Linked DNA regions of Homo sapiens: region 2 is linked to region 1. Evidence: promoter capture Hi-C in human tissues and cell types (Jung and others, 2019). All regions are on one chromosome and are shown on one strand. The core of a region is centred on a gene start or on the middle of the fragment in contact, and the rest is flanking DNA. Distances in the headings are between cores, read along the strand shown.

The links. The method cuts DNA at HindIII sites, captures the fragments that hold promoters and counts their contacts. A contact is called where the count stands out against the background at its distance.
Region 2: a fragment that was not itself captured here is called in contact with the fragment with the promoter of HSF5 in region 1 in 1 of the 25 tissues and cell types used here (lymphoblastoid cells).

The regions. Positions count from the first base shown.
Region 1 is chr17:58,485,660-58,490,662 of GRCh38, forward strand. HSF5 (heat shock transcription factor 5) reads right to left here and starts at 2,749. Exons shown (of 6, transcript NM_001080439.3): 1 at 2,066-2,749. The coding sequence starts at 2,615. MTMR4 (myotubularin related protein 4) reads right to left here. Exons shown (of 18, transcript NM_001378067.1): 18 at 3,878-5,003. RefSeq lists silencers at 2,031-2,150, 2,411-2,460. The HindIII fragment of the contact is 20,222 bases long and covers 1-5,003 here.
Region 2 is chr17:58,943,481-58,948,279 of GRCh38, forward strand. The region is part of intron 1 of PPM1E (protein phosphatase, Mg2+/Mn2+ dependent 1E); the gene reads left to right. Among named protein-coding and RNA genes, the nearest start is that of TRIM37, 160 kb to the right of the region's middle. The HindIII fragment of the contact is 4,077 bases long and covers 483-4,559 here.

The sequences.
Region 1 (5,003 bases), core at 1,499-3,998:
TCCCTTGAGCCCGGGAGGTGGAGGTTGCAGTGAGCCAAGATCTTGCCACTGCACTCCAGCCTGGGGGACAGAGTGAAACCCTATCTCAAAAAAAAAAAAAAAAAATCAAGTCTATAAAATAATTTGGCCATGTGAAGTGGCTCACACCTGTAATCCCAGCACATTGGGAGGCCAAGATGGGCGGATCACCTGAGGTCAGGAGTTCAAAACCAGCCTGGCCAACATGGTGAAACCCCATCTCTACTAACAATACAAAAATTAGCGAGGTGTGGTGGCAGGCACCTGTAAAATCCTAGCTACTCTGGAGGCTGAGGCAGAAGAATCACTTGAACCCGGGAGGCAGAGGTTGCAGTGAGCGGAGATCTTGCCATTGCACGCCAGCCTGGGCAACACAGTGAGACTTAATCTCAAAAAGTAAAATAGGCAGGGCGCAGTGGCTCAGGCCTGTAATCCCAGCACTTTGGGAGGCCAAGGCTGGCGGATCACCTGAGGTCAGGAGTTCGAGACCAGCCTGGCCAACCTGGTGAAACCTCGTCTCTACTAAAAAATATAAAAATTAGCCGGGCATGGTGGCACGCGCCTGTATTCCCAGCTACTCAGGAGGCTAAGGAATGAGAATTGCTTGAACCCGAGAGGCGGAGGTTGTGGTGAGCCGAGATCGCGCCATTGCACTCCAGCCTGGGTGACAAGAGCGAAACTCCGTCTCAAAAAAATAAACAAATAATAAAAAATAAATAATCCACTATCACAGAGGGTTTCTTAACTTTTACTAAATACAGATGTATACCAAAAAGTTTTTTCAATACTGAAAGATTGTAGCCAATAGTGAAAACTCCAAAGGCTGTAAATGTGAGCTTTCTAAAATTCTTTTTTAACTAAAACTTGACAGCTGTAAAGAAAACCATCTTTGCCTTATGTTTGTCTAATCATACCCCTTTAAGGAAGCATCAAGCTCTAATTTGCTTCAATGAAAGAAATGTGTAGCCAATTCATTCTACATAGGAACTATATCTTGTAAGCCACGATGTATCGTTGTATTTTTGCTCTTAAGGTATATAAACAACGTCTACCATTCTACACATTAACCAGAACCTTAAATCTGATGATTGTCGTAGCACTTCTAAGATTTCTTAGATGTGCCAATAGGTGGAAGGTGGCAGCCCTCTTCAAGGACAAATTTCCACTGCAGGCACCTTTTCCAAAACTTTCCCTTGCCTGCTATTGTAATGTTCTAAGTTCTCTCTTTTTTTTTTTTTTTTTTTTTTTGAGACCGAGTCTCGCTCTGTTGCTCAGACTGGAGTGCAGTGGCACTATCTCGGCTTACTGCAACCTCTGCCTCCTGGGTTCAAGCGATTCTCCTGCCTCAGTCTCCTAAGTAGCTGGGATTACAGGCGTGCACCACCATGCCTGGCTAATTTTTGTATTTTTAGTAGAGACGAGGTTTCACCCTGTTGGTTAGGCCGGTCTCAAACTCCTAACCTCGTGATGCACCCGCCTCGGCCTCCCAAAGTGCTGGGATTACAGGCGTGAGCCACCACGCCCAACCGTAATGTTCTAAATTCTCTTGACTACGATTTTGTTCCATCCCGCCTTAACCCGTAGGGTGACTCCACTCTGCTTCCCACGGGAGCAAAGGAGCCCCTTTTGTTTCTTCCAGACCCAATGTTTCAACGAAGGACTACTGAGTCCACATGTTTACAGTGGACAGTGTGGGTCTCAGGAAGGTAAACGGAGGCTTACAACCAGGTAAACTCCTGGGGTTCAAACCGGGGACGAGTAGAAGGGAGCCTAAGAGGCGGAGGTCCCTTTTGCTGCCAGTGGGCTCAGAAGGGGCCGAATGCTTACGGACCCTCCAGGGGAGGGCCGGTGGCCACCGTGCTGGTGCCGCTGAGAACGGCGGCGGTGGCGGGACCGCCAGTCTCGGGAAGCACAGCGGCCAATGGGTCCCCGGCGCCTTTCCGACGCCCATAGCGTGAGGACGTGCGAAAATGCGCCCTCCAGCGGCGGTTGCTCCCCGCCGCCCATGTGCCCACTGTGGGCGAGGGCACGGGCAGTCCGGACTCACCGTGCGGCTCGGGCCGGGGCCCCGCGGGCGGCGGCGGCTGCTGGTGCTGCAGTGGCGCGGTGGCGGCGGAGGCCGAGGTGATGAGCAGCCGCTGGAAGCGGTTGGGCGGGCGGCAGGGCACCTCCAGGCCGGCCGCCAGCTTGGCCTTGTTGGCGCTGGTGAGGCGCTTGAGGTGCACGAGCAGCTGTGGCTGGTCGCGGCGGAAGTGCGGGTTGTGGAAGTGATGGAGCGGCCCATTGCCTGCCGGTTTGCCGCCCCCCGGCCCGCCCAGCACCACCTTGCGGAAGCCGTAGAGGTTGAGCTGGCGGATGAAGCTGGTGAAGCTGGTGGTTTTGAAGAGCTCGGGCTCGGCCCCGGCCCCCGCAGTCCCGCCACCGCCCCCCGGCCCGGGCGGGCTGAGCAGCTCGGCCTCGAAGAGCGGCTGATCGATAAGCAGCCCCTCGCCGCGGCCGTCCCAGCGGATGGAGCGGTAGCGCGGGCTGTTCACCAGGCGCCACAGCTTGGCGGGGAAGTTGTTGGGGTTGATGGGGGTGGAGAGCAGCGCCTCCATCGCCCCGCCGGGCCGGGGCCTCGCCCCCCGAGCCTAGCTCTCCCACACCGTTCTCGATCCCTCCCCGGCCTTCGCCTCGCCCTGCCCGCTCCTGCCGGCGCCCATCCGCCGCGTACCAGGGACCGTTGGCGCACGAGGCCCCGCGGCGCCTCCCAGCGCGGCCAATGGGGCCTCGAGTTCCCGCCACGCGGCGTGGGCACCTCCCCCTCGGCGGCCGCGTGCCCCAGCTCGGCCCGCCGGACGCCTGCGGGACCCGGGCAGGAGCCCCTTCCCCAGGCGTTCCCAGACTTCAGGCCGGGAAGGCTGTCTGCCGGGGTGTTCTAAGTCCTGACAAGAGAGAAGCCCAGTTATCCACCGTGGAATACCAAGAGGCGTGTGTTTCGGCCCAGCCAACTAGTGGAGACTTGGAATGCAGAGAAAGTGTGCGTTAGGCAGCAGAGTTGGTCGTTCTGGGGACCAAAGGGTCTGGTCTGTAATCTTTGCTAACAGTGGAACTGCTTACCTCTCAAACAAAAATGATGCTACTGGAGGTATAATATCTTGAGTAAACGAACTCACCTTTTAGATAGTAGCCCTTTGTATCTTTTAAGATACACTCTTTTAAGTCAGTATTTGTTCAAGACAATTTACTCAAGGTTAGATGAAAACTGAGGTCCCTAGGAGGAGGGAATCACAAGAATCTAAGTACTATCTTGTGTGCCTGCCCAACTAGCTGGTGGCATTTTAGACATTAAAGAGAAATAAAGATGGGACAGAATTCTACGGTATCCATAAGAATCGATCCCTAGCCAATCAATAAATAAGAATGTAACAAGAGCTGTGCTGATTCAAAAAGAGAGGTTCATTTGAAAACGGAAATTGGCCGGGCGCAGTGGCTCATGTCTGTAATCCTAACACTTCGGGAGGCCGAGCTGGGTGGACTGCTTGAACCCAGGAGTTCGAGACCAGCCTGGCCAACATGGTCAAACCCTGTCTCTACTAAAAATACAAAAATTAGCCAGCGTGGTAGCATACCTGTAGTCCCAACTGTTCAGGAGGCTGAGGCAGGAGAATCGCTTGAACCCAGAAGGCGGAGGTTGCAGTGAGCCGAGATCGCACCACTGCACTCCAGCCTGGGGAACAGAGGGAGACTCCATCTCAAAATAAATAAATTGGAAATTGCTGGGAGAAAGGGGTACAATGTTCTACTCTTCTCATGGTCAAAGAATAAGTGAATATTAAGTTTTTTTAGAAATGAAAATAAAACGACCCAACAAAGCAGCACTAATATAGAGATTTTATTTAAACTGTATTGAATTTTTACAGCACATTGCATGTTTGTCACAACGCAACTGCACAGTTTGGATTTTTGGCCACATCATGTCACTTACACCCACAACAGCTCTGAAAGGAGTATTTGATGAACACATCTGAGCCAAGAGCCCAGAGTCTCTCTCCAAGGCCATGCAGTTTGTTCACTGATGGGACAGTCCCTCAAAACAGCCACGCTAAGTAGACAGATACAGTCTCCCCAAATGTTACCAATCTTACTCCCCTTGAAAACAGGCAGAGTGAAGTGCAATGAAAGACAAGTTAATTAAAAAGCCACTCACAACTGGCAGTAAATTTTAATGATTGATAAAATGCTTAAAATAATTTTATGTATCAGAAACAAGGAACAGCTTGTTACTTTTTCAATGATCTCAGGAATTTTGCAGACACAAAATCTCCATTATTCAGCTCCATTTAAATGAAAAAAAAAGTTCCGCTAGGCTGACCTAAATATGCCAAAACTTTTTAGGTTACATCTATGGCAAGTACAAAAGAACCACAGATGCGTCTCTGTAGGACTGAAAAGGTCAGGACAAATAATGATTCTTGTTCTAAATGCAGATCCTAGTTATTTTGGAATGAAATGCTGTTTTCTAGAAAGCAACATGAAAGTAGCAGTAAGAAAGATGACTACCATCATTTCAAAACAGGATAAGCCTAAATATAATTTACCATTTATATGTCAACAAATTAAGGAAAACTGTATAAAGTCCTAGTGGTTTCATTATAGGCCAAGGAGACTGTATCTGTCCCACCCACAGTACATGGCTATATCACTGTATCTTTTGGTTAAGTGCCACTGGTACATATTAAGATGAAAAAAAACAAAAACAAAAACAAAAAAACAAAATAAAATTTTTTAAAAACCAACAACGTTTGGTCCAAATGGACACATGTTCTTTCCCAATTTTGGTATCAAGGCTTTATTCTCTTCTGTTTGGGTTCCATTGTTAAGTGCACAGAAATAGACAGCAGCATTTGTACTGAAACCCTCACATACCAAACAGCATATGCTAGGAGGTAAAAACCAAACGCTAAATTCTACCCTCAAGGTGTCAAGTGTTCAGGATAAGAAGC
Region 2 (4,799 bases), core at 1,271-3,770, 460 kb after region 1:
ACTTCCCACAGTCTCTTAGCACTGTGTGACAGTCCTACTACTCTCTGATATGACGATTTCATATCTGCTCTGACTTCATCCCTCCTCCTTCCTTTCTACCCTCATGACCTAGTTTGTGATTTAACCTAGTGGCTCTCAAAATGTGGTTCCCAGACCCGCAGCATGAGTTCATATTTAACTTGTTAAATATGAAGATTCACAGGCCTCACATCAGGCTTATTGAGTCAGAAACTCTGTGGATGGGGCCCAGCAATCTGTGTGCTAAGAAGCCCTGCAGGTGATTCTGATGCGTGAGAAAGTTTTGAAAATGAATCTTGCCTCATACTTCATTGAGAAGCCCTTCTTTAGAATGTAAGCTCTAAGAGGGCAGGGGTTTTTTCTTTTTTGTTTATATATACCCTGAGCACTAGAACAGTGCCTGGTACATAGTAGGCCTCAATAAATATTTGTTGTCTCAAATCATTAAATGGGAATACCCGTCGTTTCCTACTAACATCTAAAAACATACCTGCATCTGTACTGATTTTCTTCTTTTTCCAACTAAGGAAATGTGCCTCATCCTACAGTCAGATTCTACACCATTCTAAAACAACAACAGACTTTCCCTTTCCCCTATCCCCTATCAGTTACTGCCCCATATCTCTGTTTCCCCTCTGTGCCAAACCTCCCTGCCCCCTACTCAGTAATTAACCCATTCTAGCCTGATTTTCACTTCCACTATTCAGTAGTTCTTGACAAAGTCAGTAGTTTTTTTATTATCTTTATTGAGATATAATTCGCATAATATAAAATTTACCCATTTAAAGTTTACAACTAACTGATCACAACCAGTCATAGGTTTCTTTGTTCCTTCTCTACTCCCACTGCTTCACATGACTTGCCTTTTTAAAAAAGTGTACAATTCAAGGATTTTAATACAGTCACAGTTGTTCAACCGTCACCCTAAGTTCCAGAAAATTTTCATCACCCCAGAAAGAAACCCCCTACCTATTAGCAGTCACTCCTCATTCCCACCACCCCTCCAGCCCTAAGCTACCACTACTCTCTGCTTCTATAAATTTCCTATTCTGGGCTTTTCATATAATTATTATTATAGAATTATAAATTCTACAATAAGTGGTCTTTGTGACTGGCTTCTGTTGCTATCCATAATGTTTTCAAGGTTCATCCACACTGTAGCATGTATAAGTGCTTCATTCTTTTTTATGGCTAATATTCCAGTGTATGAATATATTGCATTTTATTTATCCATCAAGTGATGGACACTTGGTTGTTTTTACTATTTGGCGATTATAAACAATGCTGCTGTGCACATTAATGTATGAGTTTTTTGTGAATATATGTTTTTATTTCTCATGCATGTATACCTAGGAGTGGAATTGCTGGGCTGGCCATATGGTAACTTTATGTTTAAAATGTTAAGGAAGTGCCAAAGCAGCTGTACCACTTTACATCTCCACTAGGAATGTATGAGAGTTCCATTTATCCATATAGTTGCCAACACCTGTTATTACTAATTGTCTTTTTTGTTATAGCTATTTTATTATAGCTATCCTAGTGGATGTGAAATGGTTTCTCATTGTGGTTTTGATTAGCATTTCCCTAATGACTAATGATGTTAAAAGGGGAAGAAAAAAACCTGTTTTTCTGTACAGTCACACACTTCTTTTTTTTTTTTTTTCGAGACTGAGTCTCACTCTGTCATACAGACTGGAGTGCAGTGGCATGATCTCTGCTTACTGCAACCTCCACCTCCTGGGTTCAAGCGATTCTCCTGCCTCAGCCTCCCGAGTAGCTGGGATTACAGGCATGCCACCACACTCAGCTAACTTATGTATTTTTAGTAGAGACGGGGTTTCATCATGTTGGCCAGGCTGGTCTCGAACTCCTGACCTCAGGTGATCGTCCCGCCTTGGCCTCCCAAAGTGTTGGGATTACAGGCGTGAGCCACCTTGCCCAGCCTCACACACTTCTGACACTAAAAGTGTGTGGGGTTTTCCCACCAACCAATTCTCCATTTCTCCCTGGACATCAATTAGGTGTCTTACAATTTAACTCAATTCTGACACTAATTGCCTGGAGTTACAACAGATCCCACAGGATAACGGGCTCAGTCCTGCAAGATGCCCCACCTCAGATGCCAGTTAAAAGTCTGGACCTCCCAAACTTCTGACCAACTGGTTATAAATCAAGGTTTCCTACAACCTTCTCCGAAGTTAAATAATTTGCTATAATGTCTTACAAAATTCAGGGAAACATTCACTTATGTTTACTGGTTTGTGAAAGGATATTATAAAGGATATAAATGAACAGCCAGATAAAGAGAGATATACAGGGTGAGGTCCTGAAGGGGAAGGGTCTCAAACATAATAGGTTCTGTTGGAGGTGGGGTATGCCACCCTTCTAGCACATAGTTATGTTCATCAAACCAGAAGCTCCCAAAATCCCATCTTTTAAGGATTTGCATGGAGGCTTCATCACGTAGGCATGTTCAAATAATTATTAAGTCAATCTCCCATCTCTCTCCCTTCCCTAGAAAATGGGAATAGGGTTGAATATTCCAGGCCTCTTATTATGGGTTGATCTTTCTGATGCCCAGTTGCCATCCTGAAGCTATCCAGTAGCCCACCAAGAACTGCTTCATAAGACCAAAAGGCACTCATAGACTATACAGGAAATTCCAAGGGATTTAGAAGCTCTATGTCAGAAACCAGGTTCAAAGACTAAATATTAGAAGATGCTTCCAGTACCCCGTCACTCAGGAAATAAAAAGGGTTTTAGGGGCTCTGTGTCAGGAACCAAGGCGGAGGACAAATATTTATTTCCAATTATGTCACAGATGTTGCACATCTTTTCATGTGCTTATTGCCCATTTGTATATCTTCTTTGGAAAAAAGCCTTTGGGTTGTCTTTTTATTATTGAAATATAAGGATTCGTTACATATTTGGGATACCAGTCTCATTAGATATATGATTTGCAATTTTTTGTTTTGTTTTGAGACAGGGTCTCTCTGTCTCTCGGGCTGGAATATAACGATGATTATGGCTCACTGCAGCCTTGGACTCTGGGCTTAAAGCGATCTTCCTGCCTCAGCCTCCCAATTAGCTGGGACTACAGGTGTGCCCACCATACCCAGCTATTTTGTTGTTGTTTGTTTTGAGACAGGGTCTTGTTAAGTTGCCCAGGCTGATCTCAAACTCCTGGCCCCAACCTTACCCCCTTGCAAAGTACCAAAATTACAGACATAAGCCACTATGCCTGGCAGATTTGCAAATATTTTCTACCAGTCTATGGGTTGTCTTTTCACTTTACTGATTTGTGATACAAAAGTTTTAAATTTTGATGTAGTCCAATTTAATATTTTTTTTCTTTTCTGCTTGTGCTTTTGGTGTCAGAGCTAAGAAAACCATTGCCTAATCCAAGGTCATGAAGATTTACTCTTTTAGGAGTTTTCTTTTAGGAGTTTTATGAGTTTTAGCTTTACATTTAGGTCTGTGATGCATTTGGCATTAATTTTTGTATATGGTGTAAGGAAGGGGTCCAACTTGATTATTTTGCATGTGGATATCCAATTTTTCCAGCACCATTTGACCATTTTGTTAAACAGAAAGTTATTTTCCTTTTTCCTGTTTTTTTTTTTTTTTTTTTTTTTTTTTTAGACAGTCTTGCTCTGTTGCCCAGGCTTGAGTGTGATCTGCCCACCTCGGTCTCCCAAAGTGTTGGGATTACAAGTGTGAGCCACACTCCTGGCCTTTTTTTTTTTTTTTTTTTTTTTGAGACAGTCTTGCTTTATCACCCAGGCTGGAGTGCAGTGACGTGATCTCAGCTCACTGCAACCTCTGCCTCTTGGGTTCAGGCGATTCTCATGCCTCAGCCACCCAAGTAGCTGGGATTATAGGCGTGCACCACCACACCCAGCTAGTTTTTGTATTTTTGGTAGAGACAGGGTTTCACCATGTTAGCCAGGCTGGTCTTGAATTCCTGGTCTCAGGTGATCCACCCACCTTGGCCTCCCAAGGGGCTGGGATTACGGGTACGAGACACTGCACCTGGCCTTTTTTTTTTTTTTTTCACTTATTTGACCTCTCAGCAATTGACAGAGTTCACTGCTCCCTCCTTCAAATACTCTCTACTATCTCGGTTCTCCTTTTACAGATTTTGCCATTTCTCTTTAGTCTTCATAGGTCCCTTGTCTTCTACTAAGCTTCTAAATATTGGGTTTTCAGTTATTGTCACTGTATTGCAAATTACCACAAAACTTAGTGGCATAAAACAATTATTTATTATGCTCACAATGTCTTTCAGTCAGAAATTAAAACTGGGTAAAGCAAGGTCACCTTATCTCTGTTCCAACTGGGGTCTCTGTTGGAAGACTCAGGCTGGGGGACTGGAATCATCTGAAGGCTTGTGAACTTACATGTCAAGCAATTGATAATGGCTACTGCCTGGGAGACCTCAGGCTACATCCACATGAGCCTGTTCATGTGGTTTCTCCACATGGCTAGTTTGGGCTTCCTCATGGCTTGATGGCTTGGCTGAGTATGAAGAGCAAGTATCCAGAGGGAGACAGAGGAAGAAAGAAGAGGAAGCCGGGGGAAGCCACGTGGCCTTTTATGAACAAACTTCAAAAGTCACACAGTATCACTTTTGCTACATTTTTTTCATCCGAGTAGTCACCACACCTCACCCATGTTTAGATTAGGAAGGGAAACAGACTCTATTTTTTTATGGGGAATGGCAAAGTTCTAAAATAGCATGCGGGACCAGGAATGCTGTTGCGGCCTTTTTAAAAATAATC